Regions from separate parts of the Homo sapiens genome. Here region 2 is linked to region 1. Evidence: promoter capture Hi-C in 16 types of primary human blood cells and fetal thymus (Javierre and others, 2016). All regions are on one chromosome and are shown on one strand. Each heading gives the region's core, a stretch centred on a gene start or on the middle of the fragment in contact. The rest is flanking DNA. Distances are from core to core; before and after follow the strand shown. Region 1 holds the start of CNOT4 (CCR4-NOT transcription complex subunit 4). Region 2 overlaps CNOT4 (CCR4-NOT transcription complex subunit 4).

Region 1 (7,149 bases), core at 1,712-4,211:
GAAATTCTGTTTATATGCTTGTAGTTATTTATTTATATGATTATTTAATCTCTGCTTTTTCTACTAGGCATTATGCTCTATGAGGACAGGGACCATGTTTTGCTGACCATTGTTTTGCTATACCACCAGCATTGAGCACAATGCCTAAAGGCAAAATAGATTTGTTAAGTGAATAGATAGGTTCCACACTTAGGAATCATTAGGTAAGCAAAGTAATACAACTGAATGTTTTTTGTTTTGTTTTGTTTTGTTTTGAGACAGAGTCTCACTCTGTTGCCCAGGCTGGAGGACAATGACATGATCATGGCTTACTGCGGCCTCAACTTCCAAGCCCAAGTGATCCTCCCACCTGAGCCTCCCAAGTAGCTGGAACCACAGGCAGGCACCACCATACCCAGCTGTTTTTCAAATTTTATCTTTGTAGAGACAGAGTCTCCCTAGGTTGCCCAGGCTAGCCTTGAACTTCTAGCCTCAAACAGTTCTCCCGCCCCAGCCTCCCAAAGTCCTAGGATTACAGGCATGAGTCACCACACCTGGCCAAATTTAATGTTAACTTTTAAAATTATATGAGAATGAAGTGTTACATACATAAGTCTATATGATAGTATATATATACACATATGCATACATAAACATATGAAAACTGGCAATGTAGTATAGTAAAAGGAGTACTGGCCTGAGATGGTAGTGACTCTTACAATTGGTGACCTAGGAACTGTCACCTCCTTACTGTCAGTCTCAATACAGGGGTGGCATTGCCCCCTAGTGTTGGATATTTTATTTATAAGTGCTAGCAAACCATGACTTGACTGTATTTCTAGAATGGTCATGCTGAGCATTTATATATTGAAATACAATTTTATTATAAAATATTTTCTTCATATCATTTATATTATAAATAGCACATCATTTTGATTTCAGATGAAATCATGTATATAGGTAGTTTATATACCTATGAATTTCATTTTAGGCTAACAAAGAGCATATTATAAAAACATTTATTAAAAAAAGGAATGTTGGGTAAGATAAGGTTGCCACTGGATTAGGTGATGCTTAAGATCCCTTCCAGTTTTTACTGTGATGATTCTAATCTTTCATAATGGGAAGGCTTCTTTTTATTTTGTTCTTTTCATTACTTTGTTTATATACTACTATAGAATCAGTAATATATACAAGAACAATAAACACATTTTTAAATAAAAATGTCAACCATATTGAATGTTTAGGCATTTAATTACCTAAAGGGAAATCCAAATAATTTCCCAAGTTTCCTTGCTAGGTAATCATTTCATGATTCTATAATTTCAAACTTTGGGTAAAATGTGACTTCACTACATATTTTAATTTTTACCCAAGTAACTGTTGTCTCTAGGTTTATAGTGAGGAAACTGAAACACAGAAAACCAATGTACCAAAAGAATGAGGCCGGGTGCCCTGGCTCACGTCTGTAATCCCAGTACTTTGGGAGGCCGAGGCAGGCAGATTACCTGAGGTCAGGAGTTCGAGACCAGGCTGACCAACATGGTGAAACCCTGTCTCTACTAAAAATATAAAAATTAGCCTGGCGTGGTGGCACGTGCCTGTAATCCCAGCTACTCGGGAGGCTGAGGCAGGAGAATCACTTGAATCCGGCAGGCGGAGGTCGCAGTGAGCCGAGATCGCGCCACTGCACTCCAGCCTGGGTGACAGAGCTAGACTCCGTCTCAAAAAAAAAAAAAAAGAAAAAACAATGAATTGAGGGCTTATTATGAAATTAAGTTCGTAAATTTAAAACTGCAACCTCTTTCCCTACTCCCCTTCCCTGCTTTAAGTTTTTAAAATCGGTTATGACATACTATGCATTTTAATCACGTATTTTTAAAATAATGCCTCTTCTCTCCTCTTCCTCATCCCAACACATCACTAGAATAGGGACAGGGAATTTTTTCTATTTTGCTCACCATTGTATTCTCAATATATAGAAGAGTACCCGGCAGCTAGGAGGAGCTCATTGAGTATTTGCTGTATGAGTGGGTGAAGAATACATGCAATAAGCAAAAGTTACTGCTTCGAGCGCCACTTCCACCAGAGTTCTGGGATGCAAACGGGGCGACCAGTACATTGACTGACTTTTGTGACTGATGATTCCTCAGTGCTCGTAGGGATTGTGGCTGCATTTATTGTTCTTGGGGATGTGCCGATGTGTGTAGTTTGTAAACTTGCACACAGCTGTGCTGGCTGGACACCGAACTAACACTAATTTGCACCGAGGTCCGCAAATTCTCAAATTCACACCAACAGAAGCACGTTATTGTAAGTGCACGGGTGTTCCGTTCTCTTGGGTAATCTGCACAGAACAATTTAGTGTATGTCTTCACTGGTGATTTTACAGTGAAGAAGGGATCAAGGGTGGTGGCCCCAAATGCGCAAGGACAGGGAAATGAATTAAACAGGCGCCTGTTTCCTCCTTGTTCGCAAACAGACGCCAAGTCTGTATCAAATTCTCACCCTGGATCAAATCCCGCGCTCTTCGTACCCACAACCTGCCTCCACCTCCACCCCGCCCCCTTTAGATATCCCTGGTGGGCGGGGCAGAGAATAAACATTCCGGGCTCCCCGAAAAACTGTTTAGCCTCGCCCCAGTCTTGGGGTAGCACATTTCCGCAAACACCGAGGACACGGAATCACTAGTGAAAACCGCCGACCAAATGACATTGAAGCAGCACACGCGTGCAGAGAAGGAAGCAAAACACGAAGAAAGGCATCAGTCCAGCAGCCACGTGAGGTGGGCGATCCCCTCCGCCCTCTGAGAGAGGACTTCAACTCCCGGCGTGCCCCTGGGAGGTTACCCTCCGAGGACTTCAACTCCCAGGGTGCTGCGGGAGCGGCCACCGCAACCTCCCACTCAGCCGCCCGCCGCTCCTCCCGCCCCTCCCCCGCCCCTCCTGGCCGGATCAGCGTGCGCCTGCGCACGGGAGGCCGGAGGAGTCTTACCCTAATGTAAGATGGTGGCCCGTCTGGCTGTGGAACCCACCGAAAGCTGAGAGTCTCTCTCTCAGCCGTAAAGGTCGGACTCGCTGAAGCAATCAGGCCCGGTTCTGAAGAGTTTTTTCCCCGACGCTCGTTCGGTGGTTTCTTGTGAGGACGCGGCAGCCCGTGGAGTCGGCTGAGGGAAAAGCGAGGCAAGGCAGGCGGGTGAGTCTATGCGGGGCTGGGCTTAGGGGAAACCCGGGGCTGACCGGCTACGAGAGAGCGGAGGCTTCGCTGGGACTGTACAGGCCGCACCCCCCTTTCTCCCCACCCCCCGCCTCATCTTCACCCTCCTCCTCCTTGGTCTTCTTCCTCCTCCTCCTCTTCCTCCCTCTCCCCTTTACGCCACAGCAGTTACCATAAGGAAAAGGGAGCGGGTCAGAAGGCAGCGCGGCGGCAAGCAGCGACTCTCCTTCGAGAATTTCTTTAATTGGGGAGCCGAGGCGGCTTTTGGTCTCCAGCTTTTCCCCCTGCATTTTCACCGGGGCAGGATTCTTAGGTCTCAGCCCTCCTTGTTTCCCCAATCCCCTGTTCCCTGTCTGACGTCCTTTCCCTCTGGCCCCCGTCTCCCAAGACCAAAGCCATCACTTCCACTCTGATCCGTGTTGGCTGCTGCTGCTCATTAATCCCACTGCTCATTGCCCACTCGTCCTGCTGCTTGTTTTTTTGCTCCACTGCTACCACTCTGGAGTTAGCCTTTGCCCCCCTCTGGTGCTTGCAATCAGCCCACAGTGTATCTGCCACACTAGAGCTGCTTCCGATTTGCAGTCTTTCCTTCCACCACATCTGTCATCTTAAAGCTGCCCCTTAAGTATCTAGATTATGCTCCTCCTGCTAACCCACCTGTTTCTCAGCCTTCTTGAGAATTGTCCGTTCCTTCCCTCTTTCCTGTACAGATCCTTTCAATATACACTTCCAGAAAAAGGGAAGCCCCGTGGTGGCCCTTGAAAAGTAAAAGGAAGTTGGGAAGTGAATGAAGTGAGGTAGGATACTATTAAACGTTATGAGTGAAGATCTTTTATTCAGGCTACTCCGGAGAGGACCGTTTTCGTTTTGCTTTCTGTGATCTATTTGTCGCTTATTCGCTCTGTTGTGTTAGGACTTGGCTTTTTTTCTTTTTTTTCGTTTTGGACCGGTTTTATCATGCTACTAAGCGTTCTTTGGATTGCCTCTCCCCAGGACACTTAGTGTGGGCCCTGATTTATACCAATAAATATTAACCCCAGCATTACAAAATAAGATAAATCTGGCGCACATACAGAATTCATCTGTGAACTCCGCTAGCAAATATAAGTGATATTTTGATTACATGTGGGTTATGTGTGGGTTCTGTATTGAGGCTTGATTTTTGACTGAGTTTTATTGATGTTCAGCTTAATTGATGACATTTTATTTATGATTTGAGTGGAAATTTCCTCTCCAGTTAATATCAGATTTTCTTCTTATTTTTGGATTTGGGAAGTTCTCTTGACATTTCTAGGATGATAGTTATCAGAATAAATTGTCTTGTCTTGAAAATCCATTAGTTATGTATGCAAAAGAAAAATCGACATTTTTATATAAACCTAAGTTCCTCGTATTTTTCTCATAGAAAAGAAGGGGGCTGGGAAAAGAATGACAAAGCTGTGCACATACATGCATTTGGTGGAACTCACTGTCATTGTTATCTACAGTAAAAAGCAGAAAACTGGAAGCAAGAGGTGGCTTATGATGTCCATGTTTTGGTGAAAGCAAAATTAAGATGTACTGACTAATGGTAAAATGGGAAGAAGCAGCCCTGGCTATAATCAGACCACTGTGAGATAAAGAATTACCAGAAAAGCAACCAAGATTACATAGTTCAAATACATACATCCCAAGTTTAAACATGACTTACATGACATTGTATTCTTAAGATATATGTAAAAATGTTTAAAATCAGTGACAGTCTCATGTGGCAGTCCATTACTGGGTTATTGTAATTTTTACAAATTTTACCTGTAAAATTTGGAATCTTAACATTTGGCATTATGTTCACTTGATTGTGATAAATGGTCTGTTTTACCAAATGTAAACTAAGGTTAGAAAAGCTGTTTATAAAACTTTTTTCTTTCAGCCACTTAAGCCCCAATTTGGGGGACCAAATAAATACCTACTCTTAGAACTGCAAGCAATTTATATAGCAAACTTTGTGCTAAGTTACAAGTTGAGTTTTGGGTTTTTTTTAATCACTTACATTTAGTTTATCAGTAGGAGTGTATTTAATAGTTGATCTTTAACTCTAAAAAATATACTTTTTGTTGTAATACACTGGTGGAGAAGCTTTCCACTTTTAAAAATCCTAACACAGGTTTAGAAACTCTTGGCAGTCATACTTGGCTGAATTGTAAGCAGTGAGTTCTAGGAGAGGATTGTTTGTCTGGTAGAAGGGAGTAAGTGATTTTAATACATCTTTTTTTTTAAAAAAAGGTATTTGTCTCACGAAATATTTTCTCAAGTAATTCTTTCCCCTCCATAATTTTTGCCCGCAGTTACTGAATTCTTCATTTCAGCCCTCTGAAGTCAAAAGGAATTTACTTTTGTATCTTTAGTACGTTTAAAGAAGATATCTAAAGTTCTTTAACATTTTGATAGGAAATAGGGAGCTGAGATTTCTAAATAGTTTTGCTTGGTTTTAGTTTTTTGATCTAACGTTATGAACACTGAAGCTTCATATTTTCATGGTTTCTTTTGATAATTTGGAATACTTTCTGCCAGGTTGAGTAGTTGAATTCTTGAGATCAATAGATTATTTCTGTAAGAAGGTTTTGAACATGAATCGCTTAAAGTTGGCCTATTATAAAATTAGGATGAGACAGTTATAATCAAATGACAAAGTGCAGAAAAATAAAATTGTTTTTGTAATGCCCTTCAACTTGAGTCTAAATGGGAGTACTAGCGATAACTTGCAACTCATTTGTTAAAGAAAGGGTGTTGCCAGTGGATGAACTCCTAGCTTTAGGGGAGTCTTATTTTAAAAATGATTTTGTGTGCTTTAAAGGAATGAAAAAATATCTTATCAGTTTAAGCAGTTTGGATTTAGAAATCTTCCCTTTTTTCACCTCCCTAATCTTGGCTTTAAAAGGAATCCATATTCTTCAGTTTAATAAATTTATCTTTTTGTTGTTTTGTATGAGAAAAATATTAAATTTTCTTTTCTTTCTTTTTCTTTTCTTTTCTTTTTTTTTTTGAGACAGTCTCGCTCTGTCACTCAGGCTGGAGTGCAGTGGTGCGATCTTGGCTCACTGCAACCTCTGCCTCCCAGGTTCAAGCGATTCTCCTGCCTCAGTCTCTTGAGTAGCTGGGATTACAGGCGTGTGCCACCATGCCCGGCTAAGTTTTGTATTTTTAGTGGAGACGGGGTTTCACCATGTTGGTCAGGCTGGTCTTGAACTCCTGACCTCGTGATCCGCCCACCTTGGCCTCCCAAAGGGTTGGGATTACAGACGTGAGCCACCATGCCAGGCCTAAAATTAAATTTTCTAATGTGACTGCAAATAGTACTCAATTAAATATGTTTAAACTTAGTGTTATTATTTTTATAGATCATTTAAGTAAAATGGTTTTAATTTGTGAAAACTTCAGCCTCTGGTGAAAATTCAGTTAGTTAGCTCTCTTACAGTAACTATAATACTGTCTTGACTCTTTGTGAAGGAAGTTACATTCAGCTCATTTGGTTCTGAAGAAAACAGTAGGGAAATAGGTTATAGAGATTTTTGCTGTTCTAGAAACAGTATAACTAGAATGTACTACATAATTTTCTCAAAGGATTTCTTAATCTAAATGGAACTTGTAAATGGTTTTTATCCCACTGGAATAGCATGTATTGGATAAAACTTGTTTAACACATTCTGAGATTTTATAATATTTTATGTTACCTCAAAGATATTAGGAAAAATCTGCAAATATCCATTCCTGAATAAAAGATGACAATATCCTCAATATTTTAAAGATTGTAGTATATACATATTTTCCTCAAAAGTTGAGAGTACTCAAATTTAAAAGCTAGCATAATTTACCCAGTTATTTTTGTGATGCAAGGAAAGAAGATATGTGGGACTTTTTAATCATGCATTTATTGGTTTTCTAAAAGAACTTCACAATTGTTTTTAATCTTGTTAT
Region 2 (7,149 bases), core at 2,121-4,620, 60 kb after region 1:
ACCCAGATACCTGTTATCTGCCCTCCTTTATGAATTCTGTCTTACTGTACGCTTCCTCCATGTCCCCTTATGCCCTACCTAGCCCAAAACACTGAAAGGTTGGACTTCCATATGAATCAATGCTTTCCATGAAGTAAAACTGCAGAAGTGGTGGCAGGATATTCCTGAATGAAGTTTGAGACAGATACACTGGCAGAGATCTCTTGGTGGGCAAGGAGCATAAGATTAGTAGCATGCCATCTGGGGTTAGAATTTAGGAGGTGGTAGAATGTAAGTGACTAGCTGACAGTTTGGCTAAAGAAGTGGTTGCATTTAACCAGGCTAATAAACATGAGCTTAAAAAAAAATTCACTGGCTAAGACTGGGTCTTGCACTTCATTTTCAGTTTAGTGTTTCTCCTTGGATTAATTTTTTCTGTTTTATCCATTACTAGTGGTATACTGTAAATTGATGTACAGAAGTATCTCTAAAAAGACTAATTTATAGGAGTCCAGACGGACTAGAAGGGTTTTAAGCTTATAATACCTGGATCCTTTTGTTTTAATTAGGTTTCTAGATAAGTCCTTACAAACTTCAAAGGTGTTATACCCTATCAGATACTTTTTCCCCCAAATAAAACTGTATTTTTCAGTTGAAAATAAATTGATATAGGCAATTCCTTTTCTTGACAACCTTCACAAGTGTGGTAGAGAATTATTTAGCACACTAATTAGTCTCAGCTTCGATTTTGTGCAGATTTGATTTTACCTATTAATAACACTTTCATCGGGCTTAGCCTTTAATTTTATAAACTCCTGGCCTCCTCCTGAGCATTAAATTGATAGGAAACATACTGATGCTAATCTCTAATTATACATTCAGAAGTTTTTTCATCTCATCACTCTATTGTCCCTTTTTATTTGTCCGTCATACTTAAATTTTCAACTAATTTAATATAGTTTTTCTCATTATACAAGTAAACGTTCATTTCTAAAGATTGAAAAATAAAAGGAAGAAAACGAACTACCTCTAGCCCTCTACTCAGTGACAGACACTGCTATTTTCTTTTCTTTTTCTTTTCTTGAGATGGAGTTTCACTCTTGTTGCCCAGGCTGGAATGCAGTGATACGACCTCAGCTCACTGCAACCTCCGCCTCCCAGGTTCATGTGGTTCTCCTGCCTCAGCCTCTCAAGTAGCTGGGATTACAAGTGTGTGCCACCACGCTTGGCTAATTTTTGTATTTTTAGTAGAAACAGGGTTTCGCCATGTTGGCCAGGCTGGTCTCGAACTCCTGACCTCAGGTGATCCACCTGCCTTGGCCTCCCAAAGTTCTGGGACAGGCGTGAGCCACCATGCCTGTCCCTATTTTCTTACATGTCCTTTGATACACTCTTTTATTACTATTCCTCTTTTAGAGACAGGTTCTTACTCTGTCACCCAGGCTATGGTGTAGTGACGTGATCATAGCTCACTGCAGCCTTGAACTCCTGGGCTCAAGCGATCCTTCTGCCTCAGCCTCCGCAGTAGCTGGCACTACAGGTGTGCTCCTCCATGCCCAGCTATTTTTTGTACTGATAGGGTCTCGCTATGTTGCCCAGGCTGGTCTTGAACTCCTAGCATCAGGTGAGCCTCCCTCCTCAGCCTCACAAAGTGCTGGGATTACAGCTGCGAGCCACTACACACAACCTGAATCACTGTTTTATTTGTCTCTCTGCCATCCTCCATATACAGTTTTGGGAGCATATAATACTTGCACATGTCTATGGTACAGTGTTGAATAACATAGGCACAGTCTTTGCACTCAAAGGATTCAAAGTTTAATACTCTTTAAAAAGTTGCCTTTTAAAAATTAATTGCTATTATAGAAGAAATACATAAATAGTCTCTTTGCAAAAACACATAGATAAGGTTCAGCTTTCTGATTGCTCCCATTCCCTTCTTTATTTTCCTAAAGGTAGTCACTATTAGCAGTTTATATGTCATTTTTCCCCCTAAGGGTTTGCTTATACTATACATATGTAGAGAACATGTATGATTTCTTTTTTAGTGTAAAAACAGTTGGCTGGGTGTGGTAGCTCATACCTGTAATTCCAGCACTTTGGGAGGTCGAGGCGGGCAGATCACTTGAGTCCAGGAGTTCGAGACCACCCTGTCCAATGTATGAAACCCCATTTCTACTAAAAATACAAAAATTAGCCAGGTGTGGTGGTGCATGCCTGTAATCCCAGCTACTAGGAAATCTGAGGGATGAGAATTGCTTGAACTCGGGAGGTGGATGCTGCAATGAGCCAAGATCATGCCATGCATTCCAGCCTGGGGTACAGAATGAGAATCTCTCGAACAAAAACAAGACAAAACAAAACACAACTGTTATACAGTACCTGCAATTAGTTTTCTTTTCATTCAGTATGTTAGTATGTACAGATTTAGTTCTTTAAAACTGCTTTATTTAATTTTACTGATACACAGTAACTTAGCCTTTCCTATTGATAGACATTGGGAGTCCCAATTTTTTGCTATTGCAAAACATTCCTGCAATTGCTTCTACTCATGCAGATGTGCAACTGTTTCTCTAAGGCTGTTATGCAGAGGTGGGGTTAGTAGATCATAGAGGATTATGTGATTACCCTTGAAATTTTACCATTCATGTTACTCTTTTTTTACCCTCTTTTTCTGGAGGGTCTTATTTTTCTTTTTTGAGTCAGTCTCACTTTGTCACCTAGGCTGGAGTGCAGTGGCGTGATCTCGGCTCACTGCAACCTCTGCCTCCTGGGTTCAAGTGATTCTTAATGCCTTGACCTCCCGACCATTCATGTTACTCTTTAAGTTGGACCTTAGAGCAGTTTATCTTATATCACTCCCCTCCCAATAGACATTTTATCCTTTTTAAATCTAACAAATTAGACAGACATTGTTGTTATTTTATAGAGAAATGTGTGATTCAGTTTACGCACATTTTTACCACATCTTTCCTTACCATGCCTTCAATTTCTGACTGTAGCTGGGCACAGCGGCTCACGCCTGTAATCACAGCACTTTAGGAGGCTGAGGCAGGTGGATCACTTGAGGCCAGGAGTTTGAGAACAGCCTATTCAACATGGTGAAACCCCGTCTGTACCAAAAATACAAAAATTAGCCAGGCGTGGTGGTGTGCACCTGCCTGGTAATCTGGGTCTAAGGATTACTTTTAACCAGAATATCAGCTACTCAGGAGGCTGAGGAAGGAGAATCGCTTGAACCCAGGAGGCGAAGGTTGCAGTGAGCCGAGATCACGCCACTGCACTCCAGCCTGGGTGACAGAGGAGTCCCTGACACAAACAAACAAACAGAAAAAAAAATTTCTGACTGTCCTCCTGGATTATTTTCCTCCTTCTTAAAAAACGTCTTCAGAAGTTTCATTAGTGGAGGTCTTTTAGTGGTAAATTGCCAGTTTTTGTTTATTTAATTTTTAATTTAGCCTCATTTCTCTTTTTGAGTCAGGGTCTTACTATGTTGCCCAGGCTGGCCTTGAACTCCTGGGCTTAAGCGATTCTCCTGCCTCAGTTTCCCAAGTAGCTGGGATTACACGTGTTGGCCACTGTGCCTGACTATTTTTAGCTGTTTGTCATGAAAATTTTTTAAGCATACATGAAAGTAGAACAAATGCTATGATGAAATCCAGTATTTCCATTCCTCAGTTTCCTGTTATTGATACTTTATAATTTCATGTTTAAAGAGGGGTCTCTTTACCTCTCTGTGCCTTCCTTCCTGCTGGAATATCCAATCATGAAGTCTGTCAATACTTTAGAATGTATCTCCTAGAGAAGAGGTTAAAAAAAAAAAAACCCACAATATTCTCATTCCTAACTAAATTAGCAGTAATTCCTTAACATCATCTAACACCTAGTCCATGTCAAAGTCTTTTCAGTTGTCTTTGAAATGTCTTTTTATAATTTTACTCTCATTTTTTCAGGGTTGTTATTTCCTAGGTGCTCAGTTGTAGGTTGACAGTAATTTTCTCTTCATATCTTGAAGATACATTACTGCCTTCTGGCTTCCTTGCTGTTACTTGCTGTTACTCTAATTATTCCATTGGGTGAAGGATTCTTTCTTTATGGCTTCCTTTATGGTTCTTGTTGTCTTTAGTGTTGTGCAATTTTACTACTTTGTATCTGGATGTGGGCTTATTGATCACATTTGGGTATGTTGTACTTTCTGGGTCTAGGGATTACTTTTAACCAATTCTTGGAAATTTGCAGCTAGTGTCTCTTTCTTTTAAAACTTTGAAAAAGGAAATATACATTCAGAAACATATAAAACAGGTACAGTTTCGTTATAAAGTAGATGTCTTTGTAGACTCTTCCGAGGTCAAAAGCAGAATATTTCACGTACCTCAGAATCCCCCTGCCCCATACACCCCTTGCCATTTGAAGTCGTCTCCCTTTCCTTAGAGGTAGTCACTATCATGACTTTTATCACCTTTATGTGCATCCCTAAAATATAGTTTCCTTTGTTGAAATTTATATGACCAGCATCGTATACTTTGTCTTGCTGTTTTTGCTCAAATTATGTTTGGGAGATTCATCTGTGTTACCTGTAGTTCTTCATTTTTATACAGTCATCATTACTTAAGATAGTTTTTCTTTCCCTTTCCCTCTCTCTCCTGTCTGTTTACTACTCCCATTATGTGTATGTTCATGTGCTTATTGATGTTTCATATTTCTCTGAGGCTTTGTATTTTTTTCACTCTTTTTTTTCCTCTCTATTCTTTGGATTGCATCATCTCTATCAATCTGTCTTCAAGTTTGCCAGTTCTTTTTTCTGCCAGTTCAAATGTACTTTTGAGCTCCTCTAGTGATTTTTTCTAGTCAGTGTTCAACTCCAGAATTTCCATTTGGTTCTTTTTAATAATGTCTCTTTATCGATATTGTCCATTTGCTGAGATACTGTCATTATACCTTCCTTCTGCAATTATGGTATCCTTTAGTTCTTTGGACATATTTATAATGGCATTTTGAAGTTGGTTAAATCCATCATCTGGTTGCTCTTGCAGGTAGTGTCCTTTGCCTTTATTTTTCTCTGGTATATGGGTCCTTCCTTCCTTCCTTCCTTCCCTCCCTCCCTCCCTCCCTTTTTTTTTCTTTTTTTGACAGAGTTGCTCTGTCACCCAGGCTGATTCTCTGCTCACCGCAACCTCTGTCTCCTGGGTTCAAGGAGTTCTCCTGCCTCAGCCTCCCTAGTAGCTGGGATTACAGGTGCCCGCCACCACGCCTGGCTAATTTTTTGTATTTTTAGTGGAGATGGAGTTTCACCATGTTGGCCAGGCTGGTCTCGAACTCCTGACCTTGTGATCCACTCATCTCGGCCTCCCAAAGTGCTGGGATTACAGGCGTGAGCCACCACACTCAGCACTTTCCTATTTCTTTACATGGCTCGTAATTTTATGTTGGAAACTGAACATCTTGTATAACATTGCAACAACTCTGGGTACTGATCTTTCAACCCCCTGCTCGTTTCCAGGGCTTGTTACAATTATTTGCTTATTTGTTTAGTGACTTCTGTTGCCCTGTTTCAGTGATTTCTGTTTCCCCCCTTGCAGTGTTTAAGCCTCTGGTGTTGCTCCTTAGGGGCACAGACTTGTGTATGACCACATGGCACCTGGCAGTGTTGGGCTGACAGTGTTTGGCAGAGCTTTCTTCTGTTTCTTTTTCTGACCACACCCAGCTTTTTATCTCCACTGATTTCTGGCTGACTACTCTATTGTCTTTAACAATACTCTAGGACATAAATTGCTTCTTAGCCAGATCCATACGACTCTCGAGGTCACTGCATGTACAATTTGTTCAGACCCAGAGGGGCGCATCCCAGCTGTCTTATTCCCTGGTTCTCACCTGCAAACTAGCTGGCCTACAGTTTAGCCTGTATTTTGAATCTCTTCCAAAATGCCTTTCACTCAACCTTGGGTTTGATATTGCTTTTAGGCTTGAACGTCACACTCTTGCAAATGAAGTCAGTTCCATTGGGAAGAGATTCCCAGCTATCTCTGGGGACATGTTAAATTATATGAGATGCTTTGTATGCTGCTTTTGATTTACATCTTAGAAAAGTAAAATACAAATATTTTACTACATAAATAGCAAAGTGATAGAGAGGTAGAAAGCAGCCCTACATAGTTGATTTTTTTGTATAACAGCAGTTTAACCTTTAATGAGAGAGGCTTTTAGAAGTTGTCAGGTAGATAGATTTCTAAAACATAAGTAAGCTTTTCAGCTTCCTAAAGGTAATACAGTCCTGAGTTCTATAGTATATGAATATTCATGGTAGATATACATTGGTACTTTGGCACCTAATTTAAAAGGGGAAATTAAGTATTAGTGCTGATATTTAAACTTTTTCACTTAGCACACTGTTCATAGCTACTCTTTAGTCTGTTTTTTGTCTTCGTGTAGTTTATGTAAATAACATGCTTTGTGAAATGTGTCTAATACAGAAACAATGGACAACTTAAAGTGCTGTTTCTTATTTTTGAAGGTTGTCATTTATAACAGACATATAACAATTTATTCTTTCTTTTACGTATTCATCAAATGTGTGAATGCTTAGTATTTACTGGAAGCCATGTTGTAGCTGCATGGTATACCGTCATAAATGTGATGCACCGGGTCATTTCTGCCCTCCTGAAGTTTCCATTCTAGTGGGAACAGACTAATTGTGAAGTCCTGAAGTTTCCATTCTAGTGGGAACAGACTAATTATAAAAATATATAGTTTATAATTTTATGTATATATTGCATGTATGGTTTTTATGGAAACTTTTTTTTTCTTTTTCTTTTTTTAATCTTTTTCACTTTTTGATTTCTAGCTAGAACCACCTCCAGAATTTATGGAAACTTTTAAGATGCTATACAATACCAAAGTGTGCATGTGTGTGTGTGTCTGTGTGTGTGTGTGTCTGTGTGTGTATTTCATATCTATAAATAGCTTTCAATTATGTATAATTACAGTGTATATATAACTTTGGTTGTATAGTATATACTTAGGAGTATTATTTCTGTGTAACTGTATTCAGTGGACTTGCACTAGCTACATATTTAAGTTATTAAAAATTCATCTATTAGATTGGCAAAAAATTAAAGGGTTAATTAAATATAGTAATCATTTCAAAATTTTATAAAAGTACTGTTATGTACT

The links. Contacts are between HindIII fragments. The CHiCAGO score rates a contact against its expected background, and 5 or more counts as called.
Region 2: a contact is called between a fragment that was not itself captured here and the fragment with the promoter of CNOT4 in region 1, in 1 of 17 cell types (megakaryocytes). The highest score is 5.4, in megakaryocytes.

Annotation. Positions count from the first base shown.
Region 1 is chr7:135,505,914-135,513,062 of GRCh38, reverse strand. It overlaps CNOT4 (CCR4-NOT transcription complex subunit 4), which reads left to right and starts at 2,961. Exons shown (of 12, transcript NM_001190850.2): 1 at 2,961-3,174. RefSeq lists enhancers at 2,266-2,435, 2,586-2,705, 2,081-2,985, 3,016-3,215, 2,986-3,891 and a silencer at 2,776-3,015. The HindIII fragment of the contact is 7,472 bases long and covers 1-5,312 here.
Region 2 is chr7:135,446,484-135,453,632 of GRCh38, reverse strand. All of the region lies in intron 1 of CNOT4 (CCR4-NOT transcription complex subunit 4), which reads left to right. Among named protein-coding and RNA genes, the nearest start is that of CNOT4, 60 kb to the left of the region's middle. The HindIII fragment of the contact is 5,706 bases long and covers 518-6,223 here.